Linked DNA regions of Homo sapiens: region 2 is linked to region 1. The links are contacts of gene promoters, found by promoter capture Hi-C in human tissues and cell types (Jung and others, 2019). All regions are on one chromosome and are shown on one strand. The core of a region is centred on a gene start or on the middle of the fragment in contact, and the rest is flanking DNA. Distances in the headings are between cores, read along the strand shown.

Evidence for each region. Contacts are between HindIII fragments. The study calls those that stand out against the background at their distance.
Region 2: a contact is called between a fragment that was not itself captured here and the fragment with the promoter of CDCP1 in region 1, in 1 of the 25 tissues and cell types used here (hippocampus).

Annotation. Positions count from the first base shown.
Region 1 is chr3:45,144,763-45,151,487 of GRCh38, reverse strand. CDCP1 (CUB domain containing protein 1) reads left to right here and starts at 5,110. Exons shown (of 9, transcript NM_022842.5): 1 at 5,110-5,282. The coding sequence starts at 5,201. The HindIII fragment of the contact is 13,721 bases long and covers 180-6,725 here.
Region 2 is chr3:45,660,574-45,667,031 of GRCh38, reverse strand. It overlaps LIMD1 (LIM domain containing 1), which reads right to left. Exons shown (of 8, transcript NM_014240.3): 3 at 1,315-1,382. Among named protein-coding and RNA genes, the nearest start is that of LIMD1-AS1, 25 kb to the left of the region's middle. The HindIII fragment of the contact is 5,401 bases long and covers 1,459-6,458 here.

The DNA of each region.
Region 1 (6,725 bases), core at 3,861-6,360:
GTGTTGTAGGCATTTTTTGTTTTAATGCAACACATCTTCCAGTATTTTCTTGAGAAGAGGTATGTAGGAGGTTTGGAGGTTTTTTAAGATCTTGAACGTTTAAAAGTGCCCTTTTTCTACCTTATTGTTTAATTGGTAGTTTGGCTAGGTATAGAATTCTAATTTGGAAGTTATCTCTCTTCAGAATTTTGAAGGTATTGCTTCATTGTTTTCCAAATTCCAGTGTTGTTCTTGAGAAATCCAAAACCACTTTGATTTTTGTTATTTTCTGTGAGACCCTTTTCTTGCCTCTGGAAGCTACAGAATCTTCTTTTTTGTTGTTTGTTTGTTTCCATCACCCAGGCTGGAGTACAGTAGTGTAATCTCGGCTCACTGCAACCTCCACCTCCAGAGTTCAAGTGATTCTCGTGTCTAAGCCTCAGGAATAGTTGGGATTATAGGCGTGAGCCACCACGCCTGGCCTAGAATCTTCTTTTCGTTATTGGTTTCTGGTATTTCACCATGATGTGCCTGGACGTGAGTCTGCCTATATTATCCATTGTGCAGGGCACTCCATGACTCTTTTAATCTGGAAACTCATGTCATTCAGGCCTGGAGAATTTCTTCACTTATATTATTGATGATGTCGTCTCCTCTGTTTCATCTGCTCTCTCTTTTTAGGAAACTTATTTTTCAGATGTTGGATTTTCTGAACTGGACCTCAAATTTTCTTTACTTTTCCCTCCTACTTTTTATCTCTTTGTCTTTTTGCTTTACTTTCTGGGAGCACTTCTAACTCTTCTATTTATTTATTATTATTTTTTTTATCTACAATCACTTTTTTTCATTTCCAATAATTCTTTTGTGGTTCTCTGAATCTTTTTGTTTGTTTTGTTCTGTTTTTGAGATGGAGTTTCGCTCTTGTTGCCCAGGCTGGAGTGCAGTGGTGCAATCCTGGCTCACTGCAACCTCTGCCTACTGGGTTCTAGTGGTTCTCCTGCCTCAGCCTCCTGAGTAGCTGGGATTACAGGCACACACCACCACGCCTGGCTAATTTTTTGTATTTTTAGTAGAGACAGGGTTTCTCCATGTTGGTCAGGTCGGTCTCAAACTCCCAACCTTAGGTGATCCACCCGCCTCAGCCTCCCAAAGTGCTGGGATTACAGGTGTGAGCCACCACACCCGGCCTTGTTTTGTTTTTTATAACATGCTGTTCCTGCTTCACAGAGAGAATGTTGTCTGACACCAAATTATAGTTGCCTACATCACTCTAAGAGAGTTAGTAATTTTTTTGTTTTGCTTCCTTTTATTTTCTTCTCTTTGTATAGTCTTTCAGGTTGCTTCTTTCTTTCTTTCTTTCTTTCTTTCTTTCTTTCTTTTTTCTCGGTTTGGTTACTTGGTTGGCTTTGACTCTAATATGTTAGAAGCTCTCCTCAGATATCCTGAAATCCTGATTGCTCATGTTTAAAAGTGAGATATTGGCCAGGCACAGTGGCTCACGCCTGTAATCCCAGCACTATGGGAGGTTGAGGTGGGTGGATCACATGAGGTCAGGAGTTCGAGACCAGCCTGGCCAACATGGTGAAACCTCATCTCTACTAAAAATACAAAACTTAGCCAGGCGTGGTGGTGTGCAACTGTAGTCCCAGCTACTTGGGAGGCTGAGGCAGGAGAATCGCTTGAACCCGGGAGGCAGAGGTTGCAGTGAGCCGAGATCGCGCCATTGCACTCCAGCCTGGGTGACAGAGCGAGACTCCATCTCAAAAAAAATAAATAAATAAAAATTAAAATTAAAATGAGATATTAAAAAGCTAAGTTGGTGGGGCTTAATTGAAAGCCTCATGGTAGGAAGCTGGTTGGCCTGTTTATGAGGGTCTAATGTCCATATGTTTGGGTCTTTCCTCCTGTGCTGGTCAGACTCCCCAGAAGAAGACTTTTTCCATCCCCAATATGGATAACAAAGCCTTTTTGTCTCATCCTTGGATGCAGGTTGGGGCCAGACAGCTGGGGATCTCAGCATTCAGAATGCATATCTTCCCTTTATTTACCTACTTTTACAATGTTTCCTATGCTTTCAGCTATGCCTGGCATCCCTCAGCCCACATCCCTAGGTTTTAATCTCTCCAGAAGACAACACTAAAGTTGTTAAGCTTACCAACCCTCTAACTTGTCAAGATCTAAAGATCGATAATATAGGCAGACTCACATCAAGGCACATTATGGTGAAATTTCAGAAACCAATGAACAAAAAGAAGATTCTACAGCTTTAGAGGCAAGAAAAGGGTCTCAAAGAAAATAATAAAAATGAGAATGGTTTTGGATTTCTCAAGAACAACACTGGAAGCTGGACGAGGGACTGTTGCCCAGGCAAGGGTAATGATGGATGGGTTCTGGGATCTAACCACAGTACTTCTCAAACAGCTTTCTTCTAGCCTTTCTTGTTTAACTCCTCTTTCACCCTCCAGTTGCAGAATACCTTGTGCTGCCATTTCCTGAGGATCTTTTTTGAGGATTTCTGTGTTAATCGTGTTATTTCTGAGTTTTCCCCACTACTGGCTTAGGGTTCTGCCATCTCCAGGCTCCTAAGGCAGCTACCACTAGTCCAGCTGCTGTCTAGCTTCCAGGGTGATTTTGCTGTTGTCTTCTCTCTGTTCTTCCCACCTTTGTGGGCTTATGTAATTTTTTTTAATCCCTGTTTTACAGCCTTTGCAGGGTTTCAGAAGAGGTCAAAATTAGATGGGACAGTCTGTTTTAAGACTCACCTTCCTTTTTTTTTTTTTTCTTTTTTTAGAGAGAGAACTTTACTCTGTCGCCCAGGCTGGAGTGGAATGGTGCAATCTTAGCTCACTGCAACCTCCACCTCCCAGGTTCAAGCAATTCTCCTGTCTCAGCCTCCTGGGTAGCTGGGACTACAGGCGCCCGCCACCACAGCCGGCTAATTTTTGTGTTTTTAGTAGAGATGAGGTTTTGCCATGTTGGCCAGGCTGGTCTCCAACTCCTGACCTCAAGTTATCCACCCACCTTGTCCTCCCAAAGTGCTGGGATTACAGGCATGAGCTACTGCACCCAGCCGAAAATTTACCTTTCAATCTCTCATTTCTCTCTAGCACTAGATTATAGTTACCTACGTTGCTTTCCAGTTCAGAAATAACCTTTTAAAATTTACTCCTTCCATTCAGCCATGTTTGTAAAGACAAAACATGTCCATTCTTGGCAATGCTTTGTTCACACTCCACTTGGAGGACCAGGACAGTATGTCAGGACATCTTTACTTCAACTATGTAGTTGGGTTGTCACGCAAAGGATGCTGAAGTGCCTCCCTATTTTCTTCTTTCTCGTTGCTGCTACTTTCTGGAACCACCACCAATGCTTCATATTTGGGAATTAGTGACTCTCATTCCATTTTCAGAAAGCTGGTGTCAACTATCCCAAGAAAGACAGTTAAGCAAACTTTGGAGAGACGAAATAGTAAGGAAATAACTTGTTCCTTAGGCTTAACTTGTCAAGCAATATTTCTGATATTTTGCATTCAATACACTGCCATTCTAGTACTGTTGTGGGTATTACTGTATGTGGGAAACAATGGTGTCATGGATGTTAGGAAAAGATGCTGGGATATATATGCCTGCTTAGAATCAGGAGAAAAGACAAATCTCCTTTCACCCTCCTGGTCAGCATAAATATTTTTAAAGATTGTTTAGATTTTTGTCAAGATTTCTTTCTCTTGATGAATTTGTCCTCGATTCAGTGGGGAGAACCAAGAGCCTCTCTTCGTTTCTCATCCTCTCCCTTCCCTCTAGTTCTCAGTTTTCCCATTTTTCTGCACAAGGACAGAAGTGGACTAGAAGATTACATCTAAGGTCCCGTTTAGCTCACGATACAGGCCCTCCCAGAGGTGGGGGTGTGGGCAGGGTCATGTTCCAAGTTCTGCCTCCCTCGATGGACTGTGGGCTCCCAGAGGGCAGAGCTAGCTCTATTCTCATGATTAAGGACATCGAGAAGGAAGGGGTGACGCTCCTAGGAGATGATTTCCCACCCCTGTCCACAAGGAGGATTGGGGCAGCCTGGAGAGGCTCAGTGCCCGCAAGAATTAAGCAGAAGTTGGGACTGGACTGTAAACTGATGCTGTCGCACATGCTTTGGTTCCTGTCCCAAGCCTCCCAGGTTGCTCCGGGTGACTCTGGCCCAGCTTCTGGCTATCCATGAACACAAGTAGTCCCAGGGAGTCATTCTGGCAGAACCCAGGTCTGCTAGCTAAGAACTCCTGAACCATCCGCAATCTCTGCCTGTGGCCTGGACTTGGTGTATGGCCGGCAGGGTGGAAGGAGAACCCACAGGGCCTCTGAAGACAGGCAGGTGGCACACCTGCGGCTGGGAGGATTTGGAAAAGGAGTCCAGCGCCATTCATTTTTCATTCATTTTCCAGCCCAACGTTTGACCTGAATGCTTCACGCTCACACTGCACACACTACTCCATTTATAATACAACTCGAGAAGGGCACATACTACTCCATCCACAGCTCAGTGAAGGGATGCATACTACTCTACTCACAATTCAACGAAGTGGTGCATCTGCCTCTAATTTACTAGCTACCCTGGGGACCTTGGACACGTTGCGTGTCTGGAAATACTGCAGGTGATGTGTGTGGAGTAGGCTGCAGGCTCACCGTCCTGCAAATACTAGCTGTACCACCACCGGCTTTAAAGTCCAACAGACCTCTGGCCCAAGTCAAGTAGCAGAGGATCCAGGGCTTGGGTGGCCCACAAATAGGATTCTTCTCCAAAACGAGGCGCATAATGGCCTTTGTCTCCTCGACAGAAAAGGGAAGGTAGACTGGCTTCCTCTATGGGCGACCTTCGCGACTCTGGAGAAAAAGACCTCATCATTCTCAGACTTGGGAAGGAAGACTAAGCCCGGAAAGGTGGGGACAAGTCCGCTCCAACGCCGCAATGGGGAGTAGTAGGGACCCAGCAACCCGGTGCCGGGAGCCCTGCACCCTGGGAGGGAGAGGCGGTCGCTGAGGCAGGAAGAGGAGGAGGAGAGAGAGGAGGGACGCACCGGGTCAGCTCGCGATCCTGCTGCGCAGGGCGGGGCTCGGGCCGGTCCGCCCGCGCGCAGGTGAGTGAGCCAGGGCGGAGCGCAGCTGCGCCGGGCTTGGGCGCCTGGGGCCGCCGCTCCCCACCGTCGTTTTCCCCACCGAGGCCGAGGCGTCCCGGAGTCATGGCCGGCCTGAACTGCGGGGTCTCTATCGCACTGCTAGGGGTTCTGCTGCTGGGTGCGGCGCGCCTGCCGCGCGGGGCAGGTGAGTGCCGGGCTTTGGAGGCGGATGGCGTGGAGTGGTGAGCTAGCCAGCCAGCGGACGCCCGGCGGAGATGCGGCCGAGGGACGCAGGGTGCGGAGGGTGCGGAGGGTGCGGAGAGAGGGCGGGGACGGCGTAGTCAAAATGCGCGGGTGGCTCCGGGACCCCCGGACTGTTCGGTTCCTGCGCGCGCCGCGTCGGGCGCGTGGGCCTTGCCCTCCTGGAGTCAACCTTGCCCTCGGCACGTGAGAGTGTCCCCGATCGGGGAGCCTCCCGGTCCGGGAGGATGAGCCCGGTGCTGGCCGAGAAGGCGGGAAAAGGAGCTCCCGGTAGCCGATCCCAGGCGACATGTCCAAGGTGGCGCGCCGTGCGCCCCAGGGTCTTTGCCGGGATTCTTGAAAGCACCCAGGCAGGGTGTGGGAAGAGATCTTTCCTCTCCAGGCTCGCCCTCTACCTCCTCGCCTGGTCCAGAGAGAAGGTGCAAAAAAAGTGCTTTCACGTCCGCATTTCCCACTAGATCCCCTTTTTCCCGTCCGCACGCTGCATTCCCCCTCTCCTAAAGTTGAAGAGCGTTGGTGCAAAAATGAAAGCGCCCGGATTTCTTTTAGGGGGTCCCAGAGAAAGCCGCCAGGCATCTGCGCCACCGCAGAGACTGGACATTCCCGCGCCCCTCGCACTTTTTGGCAGTGGACTTTGAGGGCAGGAGGCTGTTGTTCCGGGGATATGTGTGAATTTCGAGTTGTTTCGGTTGGGGGAAGGGACCAACACGTCCCAGTGACCTGTGCCAGCCAGGAAATGCCCTGTGGGCCCTGGATGTATTAGAACGTAGTAAATAACCTGGTTTCTTCATGTAAGAACTTGATGTGAGGCTAGTACAGGTTTCGCGAGATTAGTACAGGTTTTGTGTTTTTTAAATAGAGCTCTCCAGGAAGCCATGTGGGTTTGATTCCCCTTGCTGCATCTAGGGTGGATTTGTGTTTGGCAGGTGTAAATTAGATAAAGGAATAAAAGGACGCAAGTGAGGTTGAATTTGGGCGTCCCGGTGACTGCCGTCTTTACAAATACAAGACAGGAGCTTCTAAAATATCAATATAAGCTCCAGGAATACTTCCTGGTTCATTCTCCAACATCAGGTGACATATTGCTGCATAGTAGATAGAAAATTTAAAACTTCATTTAAACCATGGCATGGATTTATAAATATATATATAAATTATATATATTAAAGTAGAGACAGGGTTTCACTGTGTTGCCCAGGCTGGTCTCGAGCTCCTGAGCTCAAGTGATCCTCCCACCTGGGCCTCCCAAAGTGCTGGGATTACAGATGTGAGCCACTGTGCCTGGCTGATGAATATTTACTATAATTTCTTAGGACTGAATTTCCAAGATTCCCTTTGAAGAAAAAGAATTAGTTTAAGAATAAAAAGGAAGTGAAAATATGTGTAT
Region 2 (6,458 bases), core at 2,910-5,409, 520 kb before region 1:
TGACTCCTGAGGCACTGCTGGAATAATTTCCTTTTTACTTAAGCCCGTTTGGGTTTGCTAGTCTGTTTCTGGCCAACAGGAATCATAATGAATCAACTTTTCAGTGAAAACCAAATAGAGCTTTTCTCAAGGGAAGGCAGGGAGAAGCTGGCCCTGAGCCCATCTCTGCATCTCACATTCCTCATCCCTGAGATGACAGAGTCATTTCAACCACCAACTACCAAGCACCCAGTCTGCATGGCATCTTGTTAGAATCTGCAGGTGTGAAGGTGAAGACGCATGTTCTTTCTATCCTGGAAGCTTTCAGTCAATGGAGGAGAGACTTGTAAGCAGACATACTGCTCAGGGCTAACAGCCCACAGCCCTGCCAGGGCAGGCCCTGGGCATGGTGGCAGCACAGAAGAGCTCCTCCATTGTGGGTGCAGGAGGGACAGGAAGGCTGTTGGGGGGATCTGGGAAAATAAAGGGGCAAGACATTGCAAGCAGGGGAAATGGCCCAAGCAAAGGCACGAAGGCATGAGGTTGCATAGGTGTGGGCAGCTGGGGATTCCAGACCTCGGAGAGCTTCTGAGTGTGCTTTGTACCCTGCACATGCTGGGACCAAGCAGGCCAGGTTTATGCCCTATAAGGCCTCTTGATGCGGGTGTGCGGAGGCCGTTAAGCTAGCCTGGCTGAGCCATGCCGGAGGTATGAACGGAGGCAGAATTGTGGAAGACATGGCAGCACAGAGTTCAACGCCTGGCTGCGTTCAAGGAGGTGGGGTTGAGGACAAACCTAGGAGGCAATTCTCACAGATCAGGACCCAAGGCAAGGTAAGATTTTTCTGCTTCACAGAAATATGGTGAGGGGCTGGTACGTGAGGGGTTGGGACACAGCCCAGGGGCCAGTGGGATGCCAGCAGCTGGCCTCAGAGGTGCGGCAGGGCTAGAGCTCAGGTCTGGGAGCCACTGGCACATGGATGGACTTCCAGTCCATGGGAGAAGCTAGATCCCCAGAGAGAGTGGGATGAGAAGAAGAGAGCCCAGGTCCCAGTCCAGTGGTCTAAGAGGAGGAGTCCAGGGTGGTGGAAGAGGCAGAACTGCAGAAAGCAGCAAGAGGATAGCCAAGTGACCCCACAGTTCCTTCAAAGTACAAAGCTGTGTGGTTTGCCATTGGCCTCAGGAACATGGCCACCCCCAAGTATCTACAGAAGGAAAGGCAGGGCCCCTCTCTCCAGCAGTGCAGCTTCCCTACACGCTGGCCCAGGTCCCCCCAGGCCCCTGCCCTCTGACTCTGGCCAGGACATGCAAGGGGAGGCTTCGGTGACACACTCACCAGGAAGTCTTCTTCACAAAACACTTTGCCGTTGACAAAATAAAAGGCTTTTCCTCTCAGCTTCCGGCCTAAGGAAAAAATCACAAACACAGGGTAAAAAAAGAAAAATTTTAATATGCAGTGGAAAAAGTGAAAAGTGAAAAGCAAAATCTTTAGGCAGAAATAAACACGTAAAAACCGCCAACTGTCAATGACACTTTCCAGTTCCTAAAAGATGCCGTGGCCCTCGGCGAGAGGCAGGCAGGCTGAGGCCGGGAGGAAGGGTGCCCTGGCAGGTGCTATTTGGCAAAAAGACTCAAGGGCTGACTTGGAAGTCATCCTACGCTCACCTTCCAGCACCTCCTATCTGCTTGGAAAGATGCCAGCAAAGCATTTGGTGGCAGGACAGCAGAGGCAACACAAGGGGGCATCCAAGCAACAGTCTCTTGTGAAGATGCAGTTTCCCACAGGCATTTATGACAGTCACCTTGGACATATGCTCCAGGACCATTGTGACCGCCTATCAGGAGAGTCCTATACATTGGTTAACTATTATTTTCCTATCTTTTTCTCACCTAAACTGTAGAAAACACACATTGTTGGAAGGATATTTTTGTTTCTCTTGACCTAAAACGAGTAGGCGGGAGTGGGAAAAGTTCAAAGCACCCTGATTCCTTGGATGGAACTCTTGCTTCCATAAGGCTAACACAGGTAAACATCCTTTATCAGTCCCTCTCATCTCTTATGGAAAACACAATGGGGCTGTGAGCTCAAGGTCAGCAGAGGGTGTCCCGGGATCCCCTACTTGGCAGTATTCACAGATCTGAGGGCATTTCCAGTGCTAGGCTCAACACATACTCAACAGGCAATGTGGGGGTTTCAGAAACTGAATGAACTCTCTGCAAAAAGTTAAACCAAGCCCTTTGGGGCCAGCCCACAAAATGAAAGTAAAATCATCATTGTCACAAACAGTGCCCGAGATACAGAGAAACCCGCCAGACGAACACTGGCTGCCCTCGCCTGGTGACGCCCACAGGAGGCAAAGCAGCGCAAGGCAGATAGCGACAAGACTGTCAAAGAACATTCCTCAGACCTCAGAGAGGACCCTGAAAGCATCAACGCAGCGGAAAAGGCATAAAAAAGGAAGTAACTTTAACTACAAATCCATCTTCTTTGCTGTGGTGGTCGTTGCTACCAGATCTAGTGTTGTCTGAATGTTTCCCCCAGCCCTCCTGTAGGTTCCTGTAGGACTTTTTAATACTCTGAGTATATGCTACATTCCTTGAAGATATAGCTAAGTCAGCTTCATACTTGGAGGGGAAGCTTTGGCAATACTCTAACAGAGTGCAGTACATGTTGAGTTAAAGAAAAAAGGAAGAGTAAGCCATGGATCAGAAGATGGCCAAAGCACATATAAAATGCTATTAGTATCTGGCCGGGCACAGTTGTTCACGTCTGTAGTCCCAGCATTTTGGGAGGCTGACACGGGAGGATCACTTGAGGTCAGGAGTTTGGGACCAGCCTGGCCAACATGGTGAAACTTTGTCTCTACAAAAGGTACAAAAATTGGCCGGGCACAGTGGCTCAAGCCTGTAGTGCCAGCACTTTGGGAGGCTGAGGCAGGTGGATCACCTGAGGTCAGGAGTTCGAGATCAGCCTGGCCAATATGGTGAAACCCCATCTCTACTAAAAATACAAAAAAGAGCTGGGCATGGTGGCATGCACCTGTAACCCCAGCTACTTGGGAGACTGAGGCAGGAGAATCGCCTGCACCTAGGAGGCGGAGGTTGCAGTGAGCCGAGATCATGCCACTGCACTCCAGCCTGGGTGACAGAGGGAGACTCTGTCTCAAAAAAAAAAAAAAAAAAAATTAGCCAGGCATGGTGCCACGCACTACTTGGGAGTCTGAGGCAGAAGAATCACTTGAACCCAGGAGGTGGAGATTGCAGTGAGTCAAGACTGGGCAACAGAGCAAGACTCTGTCTCAAAAATAAATAAATAAAATAAATTAAAATAGTATTAGTACCTAAGACACAAAGAACACCAATTAATAAGAAAAAGATAAATAATCCAATGGGGAAATGAGCAAAGGGCAGGAAGAGAAAGTGCATAGAATAGAAAACCTGTTATACCTTAGGAATAACCAGGATTATTAATCATAACCCCAATATCTATAATAAAAAGATGTTCTATCCTATCAACAATCAGGATAATGCAAACTAAAACCACAATGAGATTCTATCTCACTTTCATAGATTGGCAAAAATTACTAAATCTAATAGCATGTCTTGGAAGGTGTGGGACAAGAGGAGCCCTTTCACACTGGTGGGAGTATCATCAACTGGGATGACTACTTGGGAACAATTTGTCAAGGGCCAATAGATCTGAAAATACACATAATCCACAACACACTTCTAAGGTTGCCCCTTGAGAAGATTACCCAAACATGCATGAGGACAGACATGTATGGATGTTCACGGCAACGTTGTTATGGAAAAACTAGAAGCGTCTTCAGTGTTCACTAGATATGAGAATTGATAAATAGACGAAGAAACTGGAGCTGTATTTACTGGATGTAATACCAGACAGCAGTCAAAATGAAAGGGCTAGATCTATGCATATCATTATTAATTGAACTGAACACCAGTGCAAATAAGGCAAAATGCCTGAAGATATACCAATGATCGTATATGTGTAAGTTTGAGAGTGCGCACACACACATACACAAACTAGTACTGTTTTGTTTTTTTTTTTTGAGACGGAGTCTCGCTGTGTCGCCCAGGCTGGAGTGCAGTGGCACGATCTTGGTTCACTGCAGCCTCTGCCTCCCAGGTTCAAGTGATTCTCCTGCCTCAGCCTCCCAAGCAACTGGGATTACAGGCACTCACCACCATACCCGGCTAATTTTTGTATTTTTAGTAGAGATGGTGGCCAGGCTGGTCTCGAACTCCTGACCTCAGGTGATCCACCCACCTCGGCCTCCCAAAGTGCTGGGATTACAGGTGTGAGCCACCATGCCCGGCCACAAACTAGTACTGTAAACTAGTACTGTATGTTTTTTATTGACAATAGTATATATGGTAACAGTAGGAAAATTTCAATTCATAATGGCAGCTGCCCTAGGGAAGGAAGGGAGAGGATGGGAAAAGGAATCAAGATGATTCCAATTTTTATATAATATTTTATTTCCTTTATAAAAATACAGAATCAAAGCTACAATGTAAAAATGTCTGTGCATTCTGGGTGATAGGTAAATAAGGATTATTTCCTATAGTACTTTCCAGTAGGTTTTAAAATACACACACAATTTTTATATATTTAATTTCCTTTATAAAAAATATCAAACCAAAACTATAATGTAAAAATGTCTGTGCATTCTGGGTGACAGGTAAATAAGGATTATTTCCCATAGTACCTTCCAGTAGGTTTTACACGCGCACACACACACACACACACACACACTTAGGTGAAACACCGTAAACGAAAAGGCAATAACAAACTAGAGCAAACATCTATACTGTATGACAGAAAAGGATGTAACTCTAATATGAAAATAACTCAAGTAACAGTCCTATATAAAAAATGGGTAAAGAATAGGCAGACAAACCACAAAATAAGTATGAATGATCAATAACTATAAAATAAAATCTTTAGCTTTCCTCATGATTTAAAAAATATTGCTGCCAGGCACAGTGGCTCACACCTGTAATTCCAACACTTTGGGAGGCCAAGGTGGGAGGATCACTTGAACCCAGGAGCTCAAGACCAGCCTAGGCAACACAGCAAGATCCCATCTCTACAAATAATAAAAAAGTTAGCTAGGTGTAGTGGGGCACGCCTGTAGTCCCAGCTACTTAGGAGGCTGAGCTAGGAGGATCACTTGTGCCTAGAGGTTGAGACTGCAGTGAGCTGAGATCACGTCTGTGCACGCCAGCCTGGGCAATAGAGTGAGACTCTGTCTCTCCAAAAACAAACAACAACAAAAAACCCTATGCTTTACCTATCAGACTAGCAAAGCTTAAAAAGAATGATAACCCCAGTGTTAGTAATGACACAGACAAACAGATACTTGTTCACACTCTGCAAGGGATAGCAGAAGCTAAAACAAGCTCTTAGGAGAGAAATTTGTATTAAATGTCAGTAGAATTTACAAAGTTCAGATATTTTCTCCCCAAAAATTCTATTTCAGGAATTTATCCTAGTTCCAGAAATCGTCATCTCAGATTTATAATAGCTTGCTAAAAATGAGCATCAAATGTCCAATTCCTATTAAATGATAACCCATATACATGTTGGAATATTATGCAGCCATAAAAAGATTGTGTTTTCAAAAAAATATTTATTGACAGGGAAAAATACTTAAAATATTTTAAAGGAAGTATATAAGTATGTGGGTTACAGTTATGAACACACTCACATATATGATGACAAAATTATGTGTACACTCATACACATAAGATGTACACCAAATTTTAAGTCATTATCTTTGAGTGTAAGAAATAGGTGATTTTCAATTACCATTTTTTCCTGCAATAATTATGCATTATTTTTATAACCTGAAACAAAGTTTAATGGAGTAGGGGAATGTGGGTGGGGGTGCATGGAAGGGATAATAGGACTTACATAGAAGGCCACAACTCTTTAGGTCTCCAAAGCTGCTCTCTTGTCCTCCCCTCAAAGTTACTGTTGCCCTCTCTTCTAGAAGGTCCCCATCCTTGAACGTTCGCAGTATTTTCTGACTCTGCTAAACTAAGGTACCAAGAATGTCTACCTACAGCTGGGTGATCTCAGGGATCATCATCAGAACCCCCTTGACAGCCATGGAAATTAATTTCAGTTACTTAAACTTTCTCTCTATAAAGGGACTCCAGAGAACTCGAAGTTTTAGAAAAGAAAATGAGAACTAACTAGAGTATCTTTCCCATACTTTTCCCACGTCGGACACCTACCTGGGTGACAGCTGATCTGCTGCCCTCTGTCCCTCCCCAGGAACAAGGTGACGAGGAACACAAACAGCCCACCTGGCCGGGCGCGGTGGCTCACGCCTGTGATCCCAGCACTCTGGGAGGCTGAGGCTGTTGGACCACTTGAGATCACGAGTTCGAGACCAGCCTGGCCAACATGGCGAAACCTCATCTCCACTAAAAATACAAAAATTAGCTTGG